Regions from separate parts of the Homo sapiens genome. Here region 1 is linked to region 2. Evidence: promoter capture Hi-C in human tissues and cell types (Jung and others, 2019). All regions are on one chromosome and are shown on one strand. Each heading gives the region's core, a stretch centred on a gene start or on the middle of the fragment in contact. The rest is flanking DNA. Distances are from core to core; before and after follow the strand shown. Region 1 has its middle 13 kb from the start of LINC00545. Region 2 holds the start of MEDAG (mesenteric estrogen dependent adipogenesis).

Region 1 (6,278 bases), core at 1,454-3,953, 37 kb before region 2:
AAGCATATGTGATCACTCTTTTAAAAACTGTTAGAATCACTTTCCTATCCAAGGTCTGAAAGAAGATTTGGGCTTAGGCTCCATTTGAAGAAATCCAGGTTGTATTTCCCCCAGCATTTAGGGTTTGATGGTTTCTGCTTATCTAAAGTGCTCACATTGCAAATATGAGCAGCAGGGCTGGGGATTTAAATTCTGTCTTGATGGGAATTTGAACTGAAATGCTCTGCCCACTGCCACTTTATAAGCTGGGAATCATCAAGCTAGCTACAAATACCTCGAGGGGTCCTTGCAGTTGCTCAACATAAATCAGCAAAATGACAGGCAATTGACTTTGAAGACAGCGCTCACATGGCTGAGTGGCTGGAGCTGCTGGAAGCAGATGAGGGCATTTTCCTGTAAACATGATTGTGATTAGCACCAGAGTAAATAGCGAATCGGGCTCTATCTGTCAGACTCCAGCCTGCTCTGGATTTTTCATTAGGTAGAAATCAACATGTGACTCAGTGCAGCAAAGTTGGCAATTATAAGAAATAAGTTTCTATTTCAACACCTGGTGAATACTTCTGATTTTCCTAGAAGGTAAGCAAGAAGGAAAGTTGATTTTGCCATGTTTTCATGTAGGGATAAAATAGGAGTGTGGGAATCAGTCCTTTCACTGCAAGAGCAATTCAGCTTCTAGTCCGTGCTCTGATGCTATCTAACAAAATGTCTGGCATAGCTCAGATTTTGGCTAAGTGGAAAGGTGCACGTTTGAAAGGTTGACCCTACCAGTGTCATCTGAGGTCACTAATTCATATGCCTAAAGAGCCCAGGAAGGTAACATCAGTAGGTAAGCTGGCTGGAGGGGCTGAGGCCAAGTGGAGTGTGCCGGCCCTGTCCAAGGAGGCAGGCTGACCCTGCTCCAGCATGGACTGTGGCCAACTGGGGCAGAAAGGCTTGGGTTGTCATATCAACTGGTTTTTCAAAAGAAGCCAGAATTTGGGATTTTCATGTAAAACACTGGGAGTTCCAAATCAAACATGTCTACAAACCCAAAAGCATCTAGCCTGTTTGCAACCTAGTATTGGGCTACCTTCATGTTGGATTCCTCCAAACTCATTCTAGCTACATCAGGTCTCTAAGCCATTTCAAAGGATTTCCAGAGAGAGCTTGCATAGACTCCCTTAGCAAGGAAATGAAAAATCTATCAGCTCTCCAGATCTAGAAGGTTTTTTTTAAAAATTCTAATTTAGATCTTTCATGCTGCAACATAAACCACTTCTTTTTATTCTCAATCAATGGAAATGAATCAATGGAAATGATAATCATAACTCACACGGGAATTTTAAACTCAGTTGGCACTGAACAGAAGGAAACCTCTTAAATGATCCGGAGCTCTGTTCTCTCAAAGGTAGCTTGTGCTATAGAGGAGTGAGAGCAGTCGTAACTCTGGTGGGCCTGGTTCAGGTCACCACCTGCTTTGAACCTCAGTTTTCTCCTTATAAAATGGGTTTTCTCCACCTCGTGGGCCCTGTACTGTGAAGAGTGGGTACTGGCTGACTGCAGGAAGATGTTTGTCTCCTCTGGGGTCAGCTCATCTGGCTGGGAATCTCAACACCACCACTTACTCCGTGTGTGACTTTGGGCAAATTTCTTACCCTTTCTAAACCTGGGTGTCCTCATTTCATTTTTTTTTTTCTAAGACAGGGTCTTGCTCTGTCACCCAGGCTGGAGTGCAGTGGTGTGATCACAGCTCACTGCAGTCTTGAACTGTTGGGCTCAAGTGATCCTCCCACCTCAGCCTCTCAAGTAGCTGGGACCACAGGCACATGCCACCACACCTGGCTCATTTTTGAATGTTTTAGGACATGTAGCCCAGGCTGGTCTTGAACTCCTGGGCTCAAGTGATCCTCTTCCCTTGGCCTCCCAAAGTGCTGGGATTACAGGTGTGAGTCACTATGCCCAGCCTGAGTGTCTTTGTGTGTATTTGGTGGGGGTGGGGGGAAAAGTGTCACTCTGTTGCCCAGGCTGGAGTGCAGTGGCGCAATCTCCGCTTACTGCAGCCTCTGCCTCCTGGGTTCAGGGGACTGTCCTGCCTCAGCCTCCAGAGTAGCTGGAATTATAGGTATGCACCATCACGCCTGGCTAATTTTTGTATTTTTGGTAGAGATGGGGTTTCACCATGTTGGTCAGGCTGGGTCTCAAACTCCTGACCTCAAATGATCTGCCCGCCTCAGCCTCCCAAATTGCTGGGCTTACAGGTGTAAGCCACTGTGCCCAGACTGGGTGTCTTCATTTTTAAGGCAGAGGTAAAATAGTGCTTTCTCCATAGCATTGTGGAGAGGAGTAAATGGAAAGCTCTGAGTCAAAAGCTTGGCTCAGACCCCAGCCCTCAGAGGGGCTGGAAGGACTGGGCACAGTGGTGATGATGAGGAGGGAGGAGTCTAGGATGATCCCAGGTTTCTGGGTGACTGGGTGGATGAGGGAGCATTAATAAAGACAGATGATACCAGAGAAAGAACTGGGCTGGGAGACAGGTAATTTCTTCAGTTCAGTTCCTACTGAGTTGAAGTCGCCTCAGAACTTTTCAGGAGGAAAGGCCCAGTTGGAAGTTAAGAAATGGCTTTGAATACTTGGCTGGAAACAGTCTCAGCTGTAAGCAGCTGTGGCAAATGTGCATGTGTTAGGATGCCTGGAGAGAGTGTAGCTTGAGAGGACAAGAAGTGCTAAGAGGACCAAAACTCCAAACTGGGTGTTAAATGCTGAGGCAAGCCAGGAAAGACTGAGATTGTGCATCCTGAGAGGTCGAGGGAAGACCTGCAGAAAGGAGCTTCCTGGAAACCAACAGAGAAATAGAAGATAATGTTTCCATCTTCGACGGCTTTACAATCTGATGAAGGGGCAAAAACAGAAACACATGCAACAACCAAAGGACTTTCTCAAGACAAAATACCAGTGAGGACCAATTAAAGCAGCCCCAAATAGTGTGGATATGCCGGAGGACTTCAGCGAGGAGGAGACACGGGAGGCAGGCAAGGTGCACCACGGGCTGTGGAGAAGACGTACTTGAGCTGGGTTTGCAGGAAGGAATGCATCTGGGCTGGCCAGAGGCAGGGAAAGGGCATCCAGGTCACGGCTGGGCTGGAGACCAAGGTTCTGCAGGGTGGAGTCCACTCCTCCACTGTAGGGTGGAGCAAGCCCTGTTCAGAAATATAGATGGTTTCAGGCAGAAATGTAGAGGCATTTTGCTCTGATGGAGCAAATATTTTCTTCTAAATAGGGACTTTCTTCTCTCGTGTCAATTTTCTTTTTAAAATTTTCCTTTATTATTGGGCTCCATTCCTCAGCTCCTTCTGTCACTCTAGAAGCTCGTTTCCTCCTGCCTCTTCCCTTTGGGTGATATGCACACTCGAATGTCCCCAGTCAGAGGCAGACACTTTCCAGGCTGATTTTAATTCTTTAGGAGCCTGAAAGGTTGGAAAGAGCATGGAATCTGAGCCTAGGGCCCTGGTTGGAGCTGCTGCCAGTTACAAGCTGTGAAACTATAAGCAAATCATGGCATTCCACTGCGGTTGCCTCTGGAATGGAGAGGATGCTACTCTGCTCCTTCAGTCTGTGACGCATGCTATGTGAGGTCATCTAAGGGAAGCCATTAGGGAAACAGTGACAGCACAGGGGTGAGGAGCTCACATAACTCCTTGGCCTACACGGGATTGAGCTTCAGGGGCCACTGTGGGGTCGACGTCAGGGGTTCTGTGGGGTGGTCAGGGGCTCTGTCGGGTGGAGTCAGGAAGTCTGTGGGTGGAATCAGGGGCTCTTAGGGCTGGAGTCAGTGCTGTGGGGTGGAGTCAGGGCTGTGGGTAGAGTCAGGGATCTGTTGGGTGGAGTCAGGAACTCTGTGGGGTGGAGTCAGGGCTCTGTGGGGTGGAGTCAGGGCTCTGTGGGGTGTACTCAGGGCTCTCTGGGGTGAAGTCACGGCTCTGTTGGGTGGAGTCAGGGCTCTGGGTGGAGTCAGAGCTTTGTGGGTGGAGTCGGGGCTCTGTTGGGTGGAGTCAGGGGTTCTGTTTGGTGGAGTCAGGGCTCTGTGAGGTGGAGTCAGGGCTCTGTTGGGTGGAGTCAGGCATTCTGTGGGTGGAGACAGGGCTCTGTGGGTGGAGTCAGGGATTCTGTTGGGTGGAGTCAGGGCTCTGTTAAGTGGAGTCAGGGCTCTGTGGGATGTAGTCAGGGATCTCTGGGGTGAAGTCACGGCTCTGTGGAGTGGAGTCAGAGCTTTGTGGGTGGAGTCAGGAGTTCTGTTGGTTGGAGTCAGGGCTCTGTGAGGTGGACTCAGGGGCACGGAGCTTCTTATCGGAGGCTGTCTGGAGGGAGTCTGTGGTTCTGGCACGGCGATGGTTGTGGGGTAGTGAAGCTGCACTGGGGGCTGGTGCCTGCTTGCTGACTGATGAGCATTCTGGGGACTGACGTGGGGAGCAAAAGCCTACCTCTCTCTCTACCTGTTTAAGGCCCACGACATGGCTACAGAGTGGAGAAGGTGCGAAGGCCAACCTCCCTTCTGAGAGGACAGCGGGGGCCTGGGCATGTCGGCCCGGTGCTCCTTGAATCTCAGGAGAAAAGGCCTAGGACGCAGAGGGATGGTGGATGCTGGGTCCTGGCAGGTGGATAGAGGGAACCGAGACGGGTAGAAATTCCTGGAAAATGAAGAGAGCGCTATTTCAGAGGGGGAACATCTCTGAATCAGAGGAGGCAGCTGCTGACTTTTGCTGAAAGGGAAAGGAACCTTCAGGACAGCGGTGGTGGCATCAGCTGGGCCGCCTAGGGCTCCGCAGCCCTAAGCCTGCACCGGCCCTGTCCTTCCCTTGGGGCGACGGGACCTCCCCGCAGGGCCCTGCGCATGGGGACTGGGGCATGGGACAGGGCTCCGCAGAGAAGACCTGCCTGAGCCGGGCAGCTGGGCCCACCAAGGCCGCCAGACAGCCCAAACCCTTCCCAGGCTGCAGGGAGGCCCCAGCTGGTGTGGCCTCAAACCGGCATCTGTTTCTTCACTCCTGGGGCTCCCTTTGAACTTGAACCTTGCAAAGCCCAAGTAACAATAAAAAAGCCAAGGAACAGGTGCTGCTGCAGAGGACGGAGGACAGGCCGGCTGGGAGCCTCAGGGGGTGTCGCCTTTGTTTCAGCGCCTTCAGTCTCCCCGCTTCCGCATGAAACTGCTCGGGACCCACGTCAGCGCCAAGTTCCAACAAGGAAAATATAGCAGCGCACAATATGTTGTTTTGGCAGAAAGCTATGAATTTTAGTATGGAATGTCTGTCACAGGGCCCATCCAATTAACTCACTTGTCGAGAAATCAGAATAAATAGTTGAGAGGAGGCGACTGCAGCTTTGCTCAGACCTTTATTTCTCATTTGTTTTCATGGTTAAGCAGGTCTGCAGTCACCAGGATGTATATTTAGGGCAGGGAAGGAGAGAATACGCATCTTCACGGTGGTTCTCCCTTTGGAGGGAAAGAAGGGTATTTTCTATGCATTTTGGAGGAGGGAATTCTGGTGAGCTTCTGTTTTAGAAAAGTGTTATGGAGGCAACCCTGGCAAACTCCCTCGAGTTTTGGACTCAGTGCTGTTGAGTCTGAGACAAGGACTGGGCCCTACCAGAGAAGTTTCTCTTCCTCCTTAGGTTATCCACGGTGGCTGGTGAGCATGGCTGTGCCGGGTGAGTGGGTGGGCAGCCCAACCTGACCCCACATCTCAGCCTGGGCCGAGCTTCCTGACGGGGAGGACACCGGGTGCTCTGGGTTAGCAATGGCAGCTGGCACTTGGGGGTGCTGGCATCCCTCCCAGGGTGCCTGCCATGCCCAGAAACTTAAACATTTGTGTGGACTCCCTGTAAGAAGCCCTGCTGCATAGTTGAGGCCCTTGGGAAAGAAGCACCTCAGCTATTCAGCAACGGGGCTTCTTTACGAGGGCACCGGCCATGCTTGTGCTTGTCCTGTGTGAATTCCCAGGGGCAGGAGCTCATTGCAGCCCCGGGCAGGGTGCTCTCCTTGTTCCACAAATTGCCAATTATGATTTACAGACATTCAGCGGATAAAACTCTGGGCAGAGAGTGACTCTTTTCTTTGAGGAGTCTTCTTGTGGCTCTCTGAATTTAGAGCCTTGCTACAGCAGAGATGAAACCCAAAGCCGGTTTATAACACCCTGCATTCCTGAGTTTTGAAGGAACCTAATGTGAGCCAGTTTTATGTAGCCAGAGGGACAGCCAGGGGAATACATTTCAGCTGCCCAAGAAAAAACTTGGCCTGTAGC
Region 2 (6,262 bases), core at 1,576-4,075:
AAGAGTTGTTGAGCTTGATCTATGTGAAGCTCATAGGGTGAGTTGTTGAGTTCGATCTATGTGGAATGGGGAGAGTAGGGGCTGGTGAGGGCTCTGTAGTGGACCTGCCCTCCTTGACTTACTAATTGAAAGCAACTTCTGCAGCTGTTATTGTTGTTGAGGTTGTATTCCACCAGCAGGTTGGAGACACAGGCAAAATATAACTAGATTTCAGCCACATGTTTGGACATGGTGCCAGAAGACTAGTTCATGCTGATTCCTGCATTTCTCCCTGTTATTTGAGGACAGGGGCCATCCTCTATTCAACTCTGTATCTCCAGCAAAGCACTGAACATAGCAGATGCTCAATTAACATATGTTGAAGTAAACTAAAGGCCTGGGTTCAAATTCCTACCCTATCATGTATTAGCTAGATGCCCCCATCCACTTCTTTGGCTTCAACCCCGTCTTTGATCTAGAGACTTTCAAATCTCAATCATTGACCTTGTCTTTCCAAAACGCCAGACCCAACTAACTCCTTGCCTCCTGGACTTTTCTACCTTGATGTTCCATAAGTAGCTCAAAATCAGTATGTCCCCCCTGAACTCATCACTATCTCTCCTCAAACTCCTACTCTTCCTCCTGTGAACCCTAGCTTCGTTAATGGTGTCACCATCTCTCTGGGTACCCAAGCAAGAGACTAAGTGGGTCTCTCTGCTCTTTTTCATTTATTTACTCATAAGATCCTTCCTGCTGACTCTGACTCAAAAATGTTGAAACCTCATCTCCATTCCCACAGCTGCTTCTGTTCAGACCCCCATCATATGTTATCTGGATTATTACATCAATCTCCTAACTGGTTTCTCTGCCTCTGATCTTCCTGTTTCAAAACATCTTCTTTGGTCATAACCAAAGGTGTCTATCTGAACTGAGGCATAATTATATCACTTCCTTTCTTTAAAACATCCCAAGGCTCCTCATTGTCTTAAGAATCCAAATTCCTGACAACTCAGAGGGTCTGTCACAATCTGGCTCCAACAGCCCTTTCTGGTCTCATCTCATATAAAACTGACCCCTCTTATCCCAAATAGGATGGTCTGCCCTAGCTGTTTAAAAATTTCCCCCCTCCCCCAGATGGAACCATAGCATCTCTCTTTGCATAGAATGGTACAGAATCTTCTCTCCCATCTCCTTATTGCTGCTGCTCCTTCCCCTGGGAGCCTCCCCTGTGTATTGGAAGTCTAGCCATGTGTCACCTCCTTTGAGCACCCTTCTTGGGGCAGAACCACTTATTTCTCATAGTGCTTAGTCCATACATCTATGGTAGCACTTATTGGATCCTTGTGTGTGTGTGTGTGTGACCTCAGAGCTTAAGATGGTCCCTGGTGCATAGTGATGACTCTGTCAATGTTTGGGACAAGAGTGAAGTTCTAAATAGGGCACAATGGATTTAACTGCTGGCACCAAATCCCTCCCCTGTGAAAACAGCCCCAGCCTCTGAGTCCTGTCTACAGTCTCAGCCCACCCCAGACCCATTCTCTTTGCAGGGATCCTCAAACCTCCCTTTGCAAGAAGATCTTCTGGATGCTTTTTTCACAGGTAGAGCATCCTTCCTGCGCCACAAAAGGTTGAGTGGGTAGTGATCAATTCATGCTCAGTGAATTAGATTTGTTCAGAGAGGCCCAGAGATGGGGTAATGATCCCATGGGTAAAAGATCCATGTCTGGAGAAAGGATAGGTGTGCACCTAGAAGAAGAGAAGAGAGTGGGGCTCATTTATATTCTGAGATTTAAATGAGATGTGGCGGGAGGACTCTTCATCCCATCTGATTAAACCTACACAAGAGTTCATGTGGGGGCACACAAAGACTAACTAAGGATATTCTCTACGTTCTACTCAACTTTTGGGATGTAGCTTAGAATCCTAAAACACAGTACTACAGAAAGCCTCGAAACTAGGCTAGATTCTCCTCCCATCCCATCCAGGCTTCTCCGCAGCAGAAATAGGTGTTTAATTAAATGGAATAATATAGTTCTCCTTTCATACCTCAGGAGATCAATGAGCCCATAGCTAGCACTCACATATTTATAGACTGAAGAAATGAACATATTCTGGGGCTCAAGGAGATCACCACCTACTGGGGAGGCAGGGGAGAAGGGAGGATGCTAGGACCCTGCTATCCCCACTACACGGCACATTGCAGTCTAGGGTTCACCGTGCAGTAGAAAGGAGAAGCAAAGCGATGAAACCCTCGTGGGATTCGTGAAGGCTTTATGGAAAAGCGATGTGATGATCAGTGGGATTTCTAGGGGGAAGGGATCCAGGGCCAGCAACCAGCTGAAGGAAAGGCTGAAAGGAGGGAAATGCAGGGTACGATCTGGATGGAGTTAAAATGGCAGAAAACTGAGGCTGAGTGAGAGGTCTGGTACTGAGGTGGGGATCGGAGTTCCAGCACTGGCCTTTGACAGCCTCTGGGTCCCAGGTGGAATGGGTAGGGCCAGAGCCCTTGCCTTCTTCTCCAATCAACACCAGGGGTGTGGTGTCTTAGGCAAGGATGGGTGCTGTGCGCCCTGCCGCCCACCATAGGCAGGGCCTGGGAACCCGGGGAGGACTCTCCCCACCTCCAGCCTCCGGCAGTGTCCGCCAGGCAGGGCGGGGGCCAGCGCTGGTGTTGAGTAGTGGACCCCAGGGGGATGACTAAGCCTTGCCTGCGAGCAGACTCGAGCATGCCAAGTTATGAGACGATGATAACTCTGCCCCGAGCCTCTGGGGTCGTGGCCGTGGGCCGGCAGGGGCGAGGCGGGCGTCCAGAGGGCGGATAAAAGGGGCCGCGCTGCGCCGGGGCCGCTTTCTCCGCGCGGTGCCTGCAGGGCTCCCAGCGAGTGGCAGCTTGGGAGGGGCCGCCCGGGCGGTCAGACTGGCACCTGAGCGGCCACCGCGTCCCGGCCAGGCGGGCAGACCGACCCCCTCCTCACCTCGCGCGCGGCTGACGCAGGCAGGGCGCCCGGCCCCTCCTGGGGACCATCAGGTGCCGGCTGGGGGCTGTAGGCACCGGACGGAAGCAGGCGGTGTGAGGACCGACGACGCGGGCATGGCGGGGGCGGCCTGCGAGCCGGTGGCCAGGCCGAGCCTGACCTCCATCTCGTCTGGGGAGCTTCGCAGCCTGTGGACCTGCGACTGCGAGCTGGCCCTGCTGCCGCTGGCTCAGCTGCTGCGCCTGCAGCCCGGTGCCTTCCAGCTGAGCGGCGACCAGCTCGTGGTGGCCAGGCCCGGGGAGCCGGCGGCGGCGCGGGGGGGCTTCAACGTCTTCGGTGACGGCCTCGTGCGCCTCGACGGGCAGCTCTACCGCCTCAGCAGCTACATCAAGAGGTGGGTGGCCTCGCCGTGCGCCCTGGCCCGTCGCCTGGTACCCGCAGACGCCTCCACCCGGCTGCGGTCTCTGGGAGCCTGGGCTGTCCTCGCTGCCTGCGACACCGCGTGGCCCCTTGCTCCGTGCGCTTCTAGACTTTCCTTCTGCTTCTATCACCCGGAGCCTGCACGCTCGCCCTGGTTCTTCTGCCTCTTGCACTGACATTTTGCAGCTGCTGCTTGAAGCCGCCCAGAAGGGCATCAGGACTGGGGGCGAGGGGGAGGGCAGGGGCCCCCCAGCCAGAGCTCATGAGTGGCAGATGCTTCTCCCATTCTGGCTCCTTAACTGGGTCAGATGAGCTCAAATTGGGAGCACACCCTTTAGGGGCTGTCTGCAGCTCTGCAAGACTCACATCCTGGCTTTGGAGCATGGGTGGCGGTGAGGAGCAGGGGGCATGCACCATTCTGAGCACTGCCAGCCCTCTCCAGTGAGGAGACCGAGTGGAGAAGCATGCAAAAGCTCAAAGTTTCCCATCTCTGGCCTCACTTCGTGTTTCAAAAGTAAACAAATAAACCGCAGCTGAGAAGGGAACAAAGCCCCTGGAAGTCCAGCCCGGGGCCATGTGGGCTGTGGAAGGCACAGATAAGTTCTGGGGAAATAAGTGCGAAACCTGAGGGCCTTAATGGGAAGGAGGCCCCCAGGATGCTTGACTGTTGTGGCCAGAGTGCCCCCAAGCTCTTCTTGGCAGACCGGCAGGATGTGGCCCAGCCATCTGAAGCAGGCTTTGGTGCCACAGGGTAAAGGAGGGCACTTCAGGCCTGATTCCACATGGCCTCAGGCCTCCAGAGTTCACTCTTGGCAAGGGCCTGGAGTGCAAAGACCTGTTATATTTGTGCTGAGAGAGCCAAGTGCCTGAAGAGGCAAGCATGGTCTAGAGTTTGACTCAGAAATGAATAAGATAGCCAGCTTTTGAGACACAGCGCCTTTGCTACTGGGAAAGACAGCGTGCTGTGGCACCCTGTGGGTAGGAGGGAGCCAAGAGAGGGAAGCAAACAAAATGAGATATTGAACGTGCAGTCTTCAAAACTCTTGGAGAAAAAACCTTGCTTTTCCAAAGATAGTGAGGGCTCTGAATGCCTGAAGAACCATTCCCCAGCAAGAATTTCTCCCTTTCTTAGTGAAATGAAAATTCCAATTCCAAACCATAAGCGGAGGACTGTGGGAGGAACTGAGTCAGATGTGTGCAGATTTAAAAAGAAGATACCCATTGTATTTGAGAGCAGGGTATGAAAAATAAAAATGTCCAGAATGAACGAAGCCGTAAGTTAGGGTTTTGACAGAACCAGTTCTCCTAATTGTAGCAAACAGTGCTGCAGAATCTGAAATGATTTTGAAGTCTGTCATCTAACTTTTGCTTTGAACACCTCCTACACAAAAGAAAATTAAACAACAGTGATTCCCCTGACAGCTTTGAATCTAGAATAAACAACTGGGCCACAGTGACCAGGTAACACAGACCAGGGTGCAAATACAAAACAACAAATAATAGGCTATCATTGTATAAGCAATACTGTGAGGGCTTCTTTTGTACCTGGGAAATAGCAAGGAGCCTCTGAAAATAATTTGGGTGATGGAAGGAGCTATCTATTGTCCTCAGGCAGGGAAGGAGGCTTTTATAACTGAGTGTGCAGTCCTGAAGGATGGCCAGGAGGGAATGTGGTCTAAATGGAGACAGCCTTCCAGGCAGAGGGGGAGGACTGGACTGTGGGCAGCAGTGAGAGGTTCTGCCCTCGGGAATCAGGAGGTGGGAGGTATGCCGAAGCCAGAACTCAGATATCTAAAGCTTCGTTCCTCTGAGCTGCCAAATTTGCCAGTTGTTTTTGGCTTTAGAGATAGCATAAAACCTCCCTCCCTCCCCTCCCTCCCTCCCCACTTCCTTCCCTCTCTCCCTCCCTCCCTCCCTTCCTTCCTTCCTTCTTTTTGAAAAATAAGCTCTGGCCAGTTTTATTAAAGATTTGCATGATTTATTTTCACCAGTCTGTTCTGGCATGCTTCCAAAGATCTCAGGGCTGGGTGCAGTGCCTCATGCCTGTAATCCCAGCACTTTGGGAGGCTGAGGTGGGCGGATTGCTTGAGTCCAGGACTTCGAGGCCAGCTTGGGCAACATAGTGAGACCTCCTGTCTACAAAAATTAGCTGGGCATAGTGACATGCACCTGTGGTCCCAGCTGCTCAGGAGGCCGAGGTGGGAGGTGGATGGCTTGAATCTTGGAGGTGGAGCTTGCAGTGAGCCGAGATGGTGCCACTGCACTCCAGCCTAGGCAACACAGTGAGACCCTGTCTCAAAAAAAAAAAAAAAAAAAAAAAATCTCAGCATTCCCTGGATCAGTGACACCAGGGTGCACTTGCTATGGTATTTTCCACATGCTGTGCCCAATTTAATGTTATTACTGCTGGAGTGGTAGATGGCAGTTTTGAGAGTATGCACCTTAGTTCTGTATTTCAGATTTCCTCGAGGCCAGGCAGTTGGTGGGGATGACCGGTTTCACTTTGCCTTGTCTATCATCTTCAGAGCCGGATTGCCCCAGCTTGTATTTTTGACCCTTAATGGGTTGGAGCCTAGAGTGGATGGACTCCAGTGACTTTTCGTCTTCTTTGCGGCCACCATATTCTGGCCTTGGATGTGGGATGGCCTCTAACCAAAAGCAGCCACCAAGATGGCCAGGGATCCCAAAAGGCAAAATGGTTCTTAATCATTTTGGACCATAGAACTTTTGAGAATTCTACGTAGATTCCCCAGAAATGTAAATATATACCCAATTTTTGCTGACCATCCAGGATGTTCATGAGATACTTGGACCCAGGTTAAGAATCCTTGCTCTATTAATTAATTAGTTCTTTTTAACTCAACAAATATTTTTGGCATATGGGATAA

The links. The method cuts DNA at HindIII sites, captures the fragments that hold promoters and counts their contacts. A contact is called where the count stands out against the background at its distance.
Region 1: a fragment that was not itself captured here is called in contact with the fragment with the promoter of MEDAG in region 2 in 1 of the 25 tissues and cell types used here (mesendoderm cells).

The regions. Positions count from the first base shown.
Region 1 is chr13:30,866,601-30,872,878 of GRCh38, forward strand. No RefSeq gene overlaps it. Among named protein-coding and RNA genes, the nearest start is that of LINC00545, 13 kb to the right of the region's middle. RefSeq lists enhancers at 4,450-5,259, 5,260-6,069, 5,626-5,675. The HindIII fragment of the contact is 6,914 bases long and covers 1-6,160 here.
Region 2 is chr13:30,903,446-30,909,707 of GRCh38, forward strand. It overlaps MEDAG (mesenteric estrogen dependent adipogenesis), which reads left to right and starts at 2,826. Exons shown (of 5, transcript NM_032849.4): 1 at 2,826-3,348. The coding sequence starts at 3,071. The region is part of intron 2 of TEX26-AS1 (TEX26 antisense RNA 1); the gene reads right to left. RefSeq lists an enhancer at 3,427-3,928. The HindIII fragment of the contact is 12,319 bases long and covers 1-6,262 here.